Regions from separate parts of the Homo sapiens genome. Here region 2 is linked to region 1. The links are contacts of gene promoters, found by promoter capture Hi-C in blood cells and fetal thymus (Javierre and others, 2016). All regions are on one chromosome and are shown on one strand. Each heading gives the region's core, a stretch centred on a gene start or on the middle of the fragment in contact. The rest is flanking DNA. Distances are from core to core; before and after follow the strand shown. Region 1 holds the start of PIK3CA (phosphatidylinositol-4,5-bisphosphate 3-kinase catalytic subunit alpha). Region 2 overlaps LOC105374226 (a long non-coding RNA gene).

What was found. Contacts are between HindIII fragments. The CHiCAGO score rates a contact against its expected background, and 5 or more counts as called.
Region 2: a contact is called between a fragment that was not itself captured here and the fragment with the promoter of PIK3CA in region 1, in 1 of 17 cell types (M1 macrophages). The highest score is 6.2, in M1 macrophages.

What each region holds. Positions count from the first base shown.
Region 1 is chr3:179,146,644-179,150,952 of GRCh38, forward strand. PIK3CA (phosphatidylinositol-4,5-bisphosphate 3-kinase catalytic subunit alpha) reads left to right here and starts at 1,714. Exons shown (of 21, transcript NM_006218.4): 1 at 1,714-1,960. It overlaps PIK3CA-DT (PIK3CA divergent transcript), which reads right to left and starts at 1,330. Exons shown (of 3, transcript NR_125401.1): 1 at 1,273-1,330. RefSeq lists enhancers at 429-538, 1,149-1,268, 2,078-2,577, 3,139-3,188 and silencers at 1,759-2,228, 2,289-2,338. The HindIII fragment of the contact is 3,906 bases long and covers 1-2,962 here.
Region 2 is chr3:174,417,390-174,421,698 of GRCh38, forward strand. It overlaps LOC105374226 (a long non-coding RNA gene), which reads right to left. Exons shown (of 4, transcript XR_924729.3): 3 at 1,671-1,793. Among named protein-coding and RNA genes, the nearest start is that of NAALADL2, 440 kb to the right of the region's middle. The HindIII fragment of the contact is 4,219 bases long and covers 352-4,309 here.

The DNA of each region.
Region 1 (4,309 bases), core at 464-2,963:
GAACCCGGGAGGCAGAGGCTGCAGTGAGCCGAGACTGCACCGCTGAACTCCAGCCTGGGCTACAGAGTGAGACTCTGGCTCAAAAAAATAATAATAATAAATAAATAATAAATTTTATAAGGAAAAATATCCCTAGTATATTTTTCCCCACCAAGGTCTACCTATTAATATCTCATATAACTCTGTGCTTGAAACACAATTTGGGATATATTGCCTTAAAATTTACTTTGACTAGCAATTCAGTGTTCCTTTTTTAAAAAAATCTGTACTCTGGAGTAACAGTGTTCTAAAACTGTTGAAGAACATTGGTTCGAGAAAAACATTTAGAAACACAAACCCCTGGAATGTGAGATGAAAATCCGAGCTAAAGGGAGAAAAAGGACGAAAGAAAGAAAACACAGAAAAGAAAGAAATACAGTCAAGTGAAACTACGACCACAAAGAGGAACAGATCCATCTCATTTACCATTGGGGTATGGACGGACGTGCGGTGTTCGAGAAGACTGTTATTGGTCAGAGTTTTGCTCTAGAGGACAAGTAGGACTGTAACATCTCTAGGATGGGTCACTTCCCAAGCCCTCTATTACTTAAAAATTCAAGGAGGAACCGATGCTGGAGTACTTGTATCTCAGACTTCTAATCACTGCTCCTACGCTTTTCCAATATTACAACAAAAGACCAGTAGGGGGAGAAAAACGCACAGTACCGAACCCTTATCAGTAGTAATCTCAAAAGTCAACAGATTGATTTACTCTCAAGCAAACAGACTTCTAAGGTACGCAGCACCAAGACACTACCTTGAATCAAATCTATAGCCTATATGACATTTCTGAAGTCTCTGTTGGCATTACGCGAAAAATCCCCCACGTCTTCTGAATAGTTAGAATTGAATCCTACAAGCTGCTTCGAATCAGAATTCGATTTAAAAAAAAAAATGAGGGCATAGCAAAAGGTCTCCACGAAGTGAGTCAAAGGACTGCAGAGGGCTGTGACAGTGCATTCCGCCTTCGGGATGGTATACAACTTAAACCATGTCGGCAGAAGAACGCACAGCAACGCTTTGTAAAAAGCATTCTTTCTATTATAGAATCCATAACCACGCTGGTTAGCCACTGACAGCGGCGGTTAGCCACCGCACCTCCTCTCACCCCCGAACTAATCTCGTTTCCTCTATGGGTGTAAAAGTGAAATAACCCACTTGCTCCCAATATTCCTTTCTATATCTCTACCCCAGCTCGCCTGCTGCTCGTAGAAACAAATATACTACACGTACGCTGTCCTAGGATGACACAACACCCTCACTACTGCAGAAGACGGATCATTAAACAAACGTCAGAAGAGCAGCCCCAACTGTACATAAACTTCGGGCGGAAAAGCAAGACGCAGGCGCAGTAGCACATATTGTTACCCTATTTGCCCACTCCCTGCTCCTCCTCGCCTCAATTTCGCTTCCGCTTCTTTGCGCATCTGCTTCCGGGGGATTGTAGGCTCTGCCCCTCCTCAGCTCTTACCCTCTTCTGCCGGAGGAGGGGGGGGGCCGAGGGGGTGGGGAAGAGTTCGTTGTTTGTTTACACGATGTGAGCGGAAAAAGAGACCAATAAAGTTTATTCTGGAAACAAAAGGAAAAAAAAACAGGGGCGACGGAGAAAGGAGTCGGGGGCGGGGGCGTGTGGCGGGGGCTAGCGAGGAGAGGGAGCGAGAAGTAGAAAGCGGCAGTTCCGGTGCCGCCGCTGCGGCCGCTGAGGTGTCGGGCTGCTGCTGCCGCGGCCGCTGGGACTGGGGCTGGGGCCGCCGGCGAGGCAGGGCTCGGGCCCGGCCGGGCAGCTCCGGAGCGGCGGGGGAGAGGGGCCGGGAGGCGGGGGCCGTGCCGCCCGCTCTCCTCTCCCTCGGCGCCGCCGCCGCCGCCCGCGGGGCTGGGACCCGATGCGGTTAGAGCCGCGGAGCCTGGAAGAGCCCCGAGCGTGAGTAGAGCGCGGACTGGCCGGTAGCGGGTGCGGTGGGAATGGGGACCGGGTGGGTGCCGGAGACTCCCGGGCGCGCCCGCCGTGTTGGGCGGAGGCTACGGGCTGGTCGTCTCCCAGCGTCGGCCCGCGGCGGAGTTCGCCTGCGATCGCCGCACCCTCTCCCTCGCCTGCCTCTGGCCTCTCCTAGCTGCAGAGGCGAGGGCTCGCCGCTCCCTCTCCTTTCTCTCTGGCTGCCGCCTCGCTCTTCCTTTGCTTCTACTCCCAGTTTTGGGGACGGGGCGGCTGGAGGTTGAGGAAGTGCGCCCAGGGCCGCCGCCCCGGCCGCGGTGGCTCTGTCTCCCGCGCCCTGCACGCCCACCCAGCCCGCGGGTGGAGGGGCTGCCGCGAGGACTGCGGCTCAAGGGACGCGGGCGCGAAACCGCGAGCTTTTCTTGAGGGGCTGTCACGCCCGAGGACTCCGGCCCCGCCAGCCTGGCGGCCCTGCGTTTGCCTCTTACTGGGTTTAAATCGCCCGGCAGGGGTATGGAAGGAACACCGCTCCCCTCACCCCCGCCAGCTCCCCTCCCACCCTTCCTTTCGAGGTTGTTTTTTCCTTTTAGCTGAGACAAACGCTTAGATCTTTCATTCATAGACCTGAGACACTGACTCATGTGACTTGTCTCTTTACTAAGTGTATTATGTGATGCCTGTTCCATGGCTCTTAAGTGGCTCGGAAAGGTAGGGTAGGGCCCGGGATTGGGCTATGTAAACACCAGACGTTCAGCCGGCGTGTTTTTGACCTCGGCTCGAGGGGTTTATTTTAGGATGCTAAAGGAATAGTGATGGTGGCCAACCGTGTTACCAGACTTGGGAATCGAAAGCTATTTTTTTATGTCAATAATTGAGACTGTTTACATGGTTAAATAAAGGGTAGGGTAAAGGGAGCGCAACAAGAGGGTCTTTCTAGAAAACAGTCTGCATATTCTTTAATGAATTAGAGTTGTGATTTCATCTTGGTGAAGCTTCCTCATTCCAGCACTGCGCCTTTGTGCACATGCAGGACCTGGGTTTTCGGAACGATGTTTTGAATCATAGTTTGTGTGGCCGGGGAGAACCCCTTAGAATACTTGGGTAGGTAAATTCCAGGTTATCTCAGGGGATTATTTCTACTGCGACTTTTGAACCACTGAGGGCAATATTGGTCATATGTTATCCTGCTTAGAAATTGAATTTTTCTGAGTATTTGCTTACATTGCACCGTACAAAATTTGTTTATGTGCTGGATTGCGTGTTTTAAGAAAACTTCTGGAAAATACTCAAAATACCGTGTTGCTAAGTTAGTTTGGATAAATCAAAACACTTTGCTTTCAAAGCAACTACAGTCTTAACAATTTAACGTGTCTTTGTATTCAGGTTTTAAGTTTTTGGTGTTTTTTTTTTTTCCTTTTAACTGAAGCACTGAGGTCCGATTGACAGCATAGATCTCCATCTAAACATCACATGTTCTGGAAATTTTTAATTATCAGATTAACTGTTCTGCAGTGTCATCAGCCAAAATTATCTGAAGAGGACTGTGTGTGTTTACGTGTGTGTGTGTGTGTGTGTGTGTGTGTGTGTTGGTATTTTGCTTAAGTTTTTTCATCTCACATTTTGGGACAAAATAAAACTTCATAGCTTTTTTCAAAAGTTTCTTGTGCTTTTTCAAACTAGAGTACTTTCCTATTAAAATCACAAAATAGTTTATTTAAAAATGATAGCATATCGTAATAATAGCATCATGGGGGAAATAACAAGAAAGTAAAGGAATATTAATATTGCATGATTGTGCGTATAAAGTTTTAAAGACATTCCTGTCAGTTTTAAATAATTAAAAATGAAACACCTGTAAATATAGAAGAGTGTTTTTATTTAAGGTTAAAAAAATTTAACTAAATTGGTTATAGCATTAAAGAGATGTTACTAAATACAAATATTGTACTTAAACTGAAAAATGGCTTCATGGAAGTGTAAATTGTCATGGGCCTTGATATATTTAAAAGGGAGACTAAAAGTGCAGTGGTTTTGCTTGCTCTGTGCGTGGAACAGCCTTTCTGGTGGCAGAGCTTCCTTCCTGTCAGGATAAGGTCCTCTCCATCCCAAATCAGTATCCCCTTAAAAAACCAAAGAAAAAACCCAAACTTATAAATAATGCACAACATAAAGTAGACTGTAATAACTTTTTCTCTAAACCAGTTTACTTTGTGTGCCGCTTCTTATAAGTACCCTTTACTGAATAAAGAGTTTTAAACAGTTACGATTACCATTTAAAGGGCACTTGCTCTGTTGATCTGTTTATTTGAAGAGAGGTAACTTAATCCCATTTGATCT
Region 2 (4,309 bases), core at 1,211-3,710, 4.7 Mb before region 1:
TGAGATTAAACACCCAGAGGAGTCTCACCCTCCACCCAGAGATGAGATCTAGACCTCATGTCAGGAACTGAGAAGGGTCTGATATTTGTCCTCCTTGACAACTAACCAGTTAGTCTGCAACAGATTTGTAGATGCTGGCAGAAAACATGAGATGCTAGAGTCAAAGACAAATAACTTCATTACTCAAGGCATAGAATAGGAAGGTGTCTTAATGAAGGCAATTTACCACAAACTCCCACTATGAGAGGTTCTGGGGGTAGCTGCTGACCGTTGGGTGATGATGGCCAATGTGCACTGAAGGAGTCCAGCACTGGAGAAATTACAAGTGTTGCAAGAGCTTGGTGCTAGAGAAGCTTTGTATGCTGCAGCAGTATAGGGGAAGTTTTGTGCGCTGCAGGAGCGTTCAGAAACCAACCATGCATTGGGAAATAGGAAGCAAAACCATTTTGTCCTTGCAATGTCTCTCCAATGCCCTCAGCTAAGAAATCAGTGCCAACTTTCAAAAGGAAAATATATGTATGTATGTGTGTGTACACACACACACATATTTTTTGTAGGGGGCTGGGCAGTGGGGACGGAGTTTTGCTCTGTCACCCAGGCTGAAGTGCAGTGGTGCGATCTTGGCTCACAGCAACCTCCGCTGCCCAGGTTCAAGTGATTCTCCCTCTTCACCCTGCCAAGTAGCTGGGATTACAGGCATCCACTGCCATGTCCAGCTACTTTTTTATATTTTTAGTAGAGACGGGATTTTGCCATGTTGGCCAGGCTGGTCTCGAACTCTGGACCTCAGATGATCCGCCAGCCTCAGCCTCCCAAAGTGCTGGGATTACAGGCATGAGCCACCACTCCCGGTCCCCAAAGGAAAATATTTAAATATTTAAAGGACTTAGCTCCATTAATGCAGAGCAGGCAAATACAAAAATTTGAAGCTAAAAATAAATCAACTGGTAGCCAGTACAGGTGGCATGCCCTTGCTCTGGAATGTAAGAGTGTACACTTTGACTCTGCTTTTCACTTTTGCTAGAGGCTCGAGAGAGCATCTTTCTCTAATACCTTCGTATATGATGGGTTATATGGTCCAAGCAGATCTACCTATACCACAGTCAGAACATGTCAGAGCCCACAGTCAGAGCCCTTACTTACTCTGAGTTTGCACTCAAAACTAGCAGACTCCCAAACCATCCAACAGAAGGTTTTGGGCAGCATTTCAGGTGCAAAATATGCTACTTCTAAAATCCAAATGAACTCACTAAGATTTGTACTTATTCCGTATTGGTGAGTAGTGCGATAAATTGTTGTTTACTTTGGAAGAGATGCCCTGGATGACAAGATCACTAAAAACTTCAGCGAAGTATCATGTCCTTGAAACTTTATAGAGTTTATCTCCCACCTCTTGAAACATATATTTTAACAAGGTACCCAGAGTATTTTCCATCTATTGCTCATCAGTTTCCGTTAATAAGATGTCATAAATCTAGTGTACCAATACATTATTTTGTAATATGTCCACATGATCAAGGTTCTTTTAGACCATAATGACAAAGAACAGGAGAGTTAACATAGCACTGAGGAAAGACCAACAACATATACTGTTGTTTATTCAATGAATGCATACTGCATTTGATCCCCACCACCTTCTTATGTAGAATAAATTGTACATAGGGCCTCACCATACTGCGTCTTTTTTCTTTTCATTTCTTAATAAAAAATTTTTCTTTTGCTTTCTAAAGCCATTCCTTAGCTCCATAACTTTGGGCAAGTTAATTAGCTTCTCTGCAGATCAGTTGCACCATCTGTAAAATGCAGACGACAATATAAATATCTCAAAAGGGTTATTTTTAGAAATAAGTGAGTTAACACATGTAAAGTAGTTGGAATAGTTCCTGATGTGCAACAAGCATACAATGTTATTATTGCTGCTTTTAAAAAAATCTGTCCCACACATACATTTGTCCTATTAGTAGAGCTGTAGACTAGTCTGGTGATCCGGAAGAAGTTCTTAAGCCACTGTCTGCATGTCCTAGGTATGCAGTCCATCAAGTTCTAGCATTCATAGCTGTCTAGAAAATCTGCCTCTTAACCTAGAGAGAAGTGCTTTGGACATCTGGTGATTATGTACCATCTTTTGAACTTGGGTCTATTGAGTACTTAAGGATGATATGAGAAGGTAAAAAGAAGCACTATGTGACTTCACTCAAACTTTCCATTTCTTTATATTTGTATATTTATAAGGTCTATAACAATTCTAAGGGGCATCAAAAGATTAGTTTGAGAGTTTTTCTTGCCTTCCCCAAGCCAAAAACTTTATAGAAAGTTTTGTATTGTGACTGTAATGTAATTCTCATCAGTGCATTTTTTACTAATGCATTTGTACTTAAATTTGTTGGGGTTTTGGCTTAGCAAGACTATGCTGCAACTGTCTTCAATGCAGGCGCAGGGCAAAATTGACATATAGGCCCAGTTATAGGTAAGTGTTTACATAAATTTCTCAATCCAGATTGCCATATTACTACCAGAAAAATAGATGACTTATATTCTCAACAACAATGTGTAAGATTCTAGTTTAAAATACCTTCACCAGCACTGAGAACTATTCATTTTTATTTTTGTTCATTTGATAAGCAGATAACTCTGCCCTCCTTTTTATGAGAAAAAGAAACATCATTTGTGCATAAATTCCTTACATTCTATTTCGTTTTCTTAGCTACAAGGATATCTACAATTATGCCCATCTTCATCTCTTTCCCTTAATTAAGTCTTAGAGGATGCTGGCATCCCACCTTCTCTTAGAGGTTAGCCTACTACTTGTAATCTGATTCCTATACACATGCATTTTCTTCTGGGACTTGCTACATTAACTGTATTCTTGTTGGTACCTTCAGCGCTTCCTTCTCTATTTACTACTTCCTCTCTACCTGAAACATGAGTGAGTCTCGATCACTTTAAAATTATTTTTTCTTGATCCTGCATCATCTCTTTTCTTTATTTTGCCACCCCTTTTCTTTCTCTCCTTATCCTTATTTCTATTCCTATCTTGAAAGAGTGGTCGATGTTTTTTCATTTCTCATATCCATTTAAAGTCATTCAAAGAAGATTTTCATATATAACTTTTCAATATAATTATTTTGGAAATGATTTCCAATAATCCCTCTAGTTCATAATTCTAATGGCTACTTCTAGTTCATATAGTATTTTACCTCTTTAAGTTATTTGGCCTCATTGGCACTTTTCTTCTTTTTCCGAAATCCTTTCCTCTATTGGCTTTTGTGCTAGATTTTTTTTTTCAGTAAACATTCATCCTCACTCCTTTCTACTCTCTTCTAATTATTGTTGGAGCTAGAAACACCAGGAATTAAAATTTTCAAATTCCTTTCCCACCAGAATTTTGCAGTAATTTACATTCTAACAATGAGAACTTGCTTGAGATTTGAAAGAGAGGAAGCAAAAATCAATTATTTTTCTGGAATCAATGGGCACCAGTAACGGCTTCTGCAAACATGTAGTCAGCTGCGATTATTAACAGCAATTGTCCAAATTTCTAATAAGTTATAACAAATCTTTCTGATTAAAATAATTAGAGGTGTTTATGCTTATGTTTTTCTGATGAAAGCCTTACTAGTCAGCTTCCATGAAAAATACTCTGGTTTTTATTCTGATCCTTCTACAACTCAGTCCGCTCTTTATCAGTGTCCTTTGCAGCATCTAGTTCCTCTCTGCACTCCTTAAATGTTGGTGATTGTTGATGCTCCTGTTTTCTCATCCTACTACATCCCCTCCCTAGTCAATATCACTCATTCTTATACATTATTCTTAAGTTCCAGATTCATGTACAATAATAATGATTATATTAGTCAGATTGGATTTGAGGTAAAGGATAATTCCACAATTTTAGTGGCTTACACAAACAAATGTTTATGAGTTACTTGCATTTCATATCAACTGAGGGTCACTGTGAGTAGGATGTGGGGCTGAGCCCCTATTTGGGACACACTGTTATTACATGGTTCTCAAAACTCCTGCTTGGATGTGGCACATATCACCCGCATGATCAAGCATAGCATGAATAGTATAGGTATGTATATTGTTCACATGGGGAAGCACTGCAACTCACCTAGCAATTGGCATGGATATATACCCCTCCTTCAGGGATAAGGAAGTGCATATCTGTGGATGACAATTTAATCTAACACAATATTGATACCACTAATATCAGTAATTTAAAACTGTTACAATATAAGTATTCCTACTTCTAAAAATCTTTAGGATGCTTTTTATTATTTCATAAAATACCTACAATAGAGATAAACAG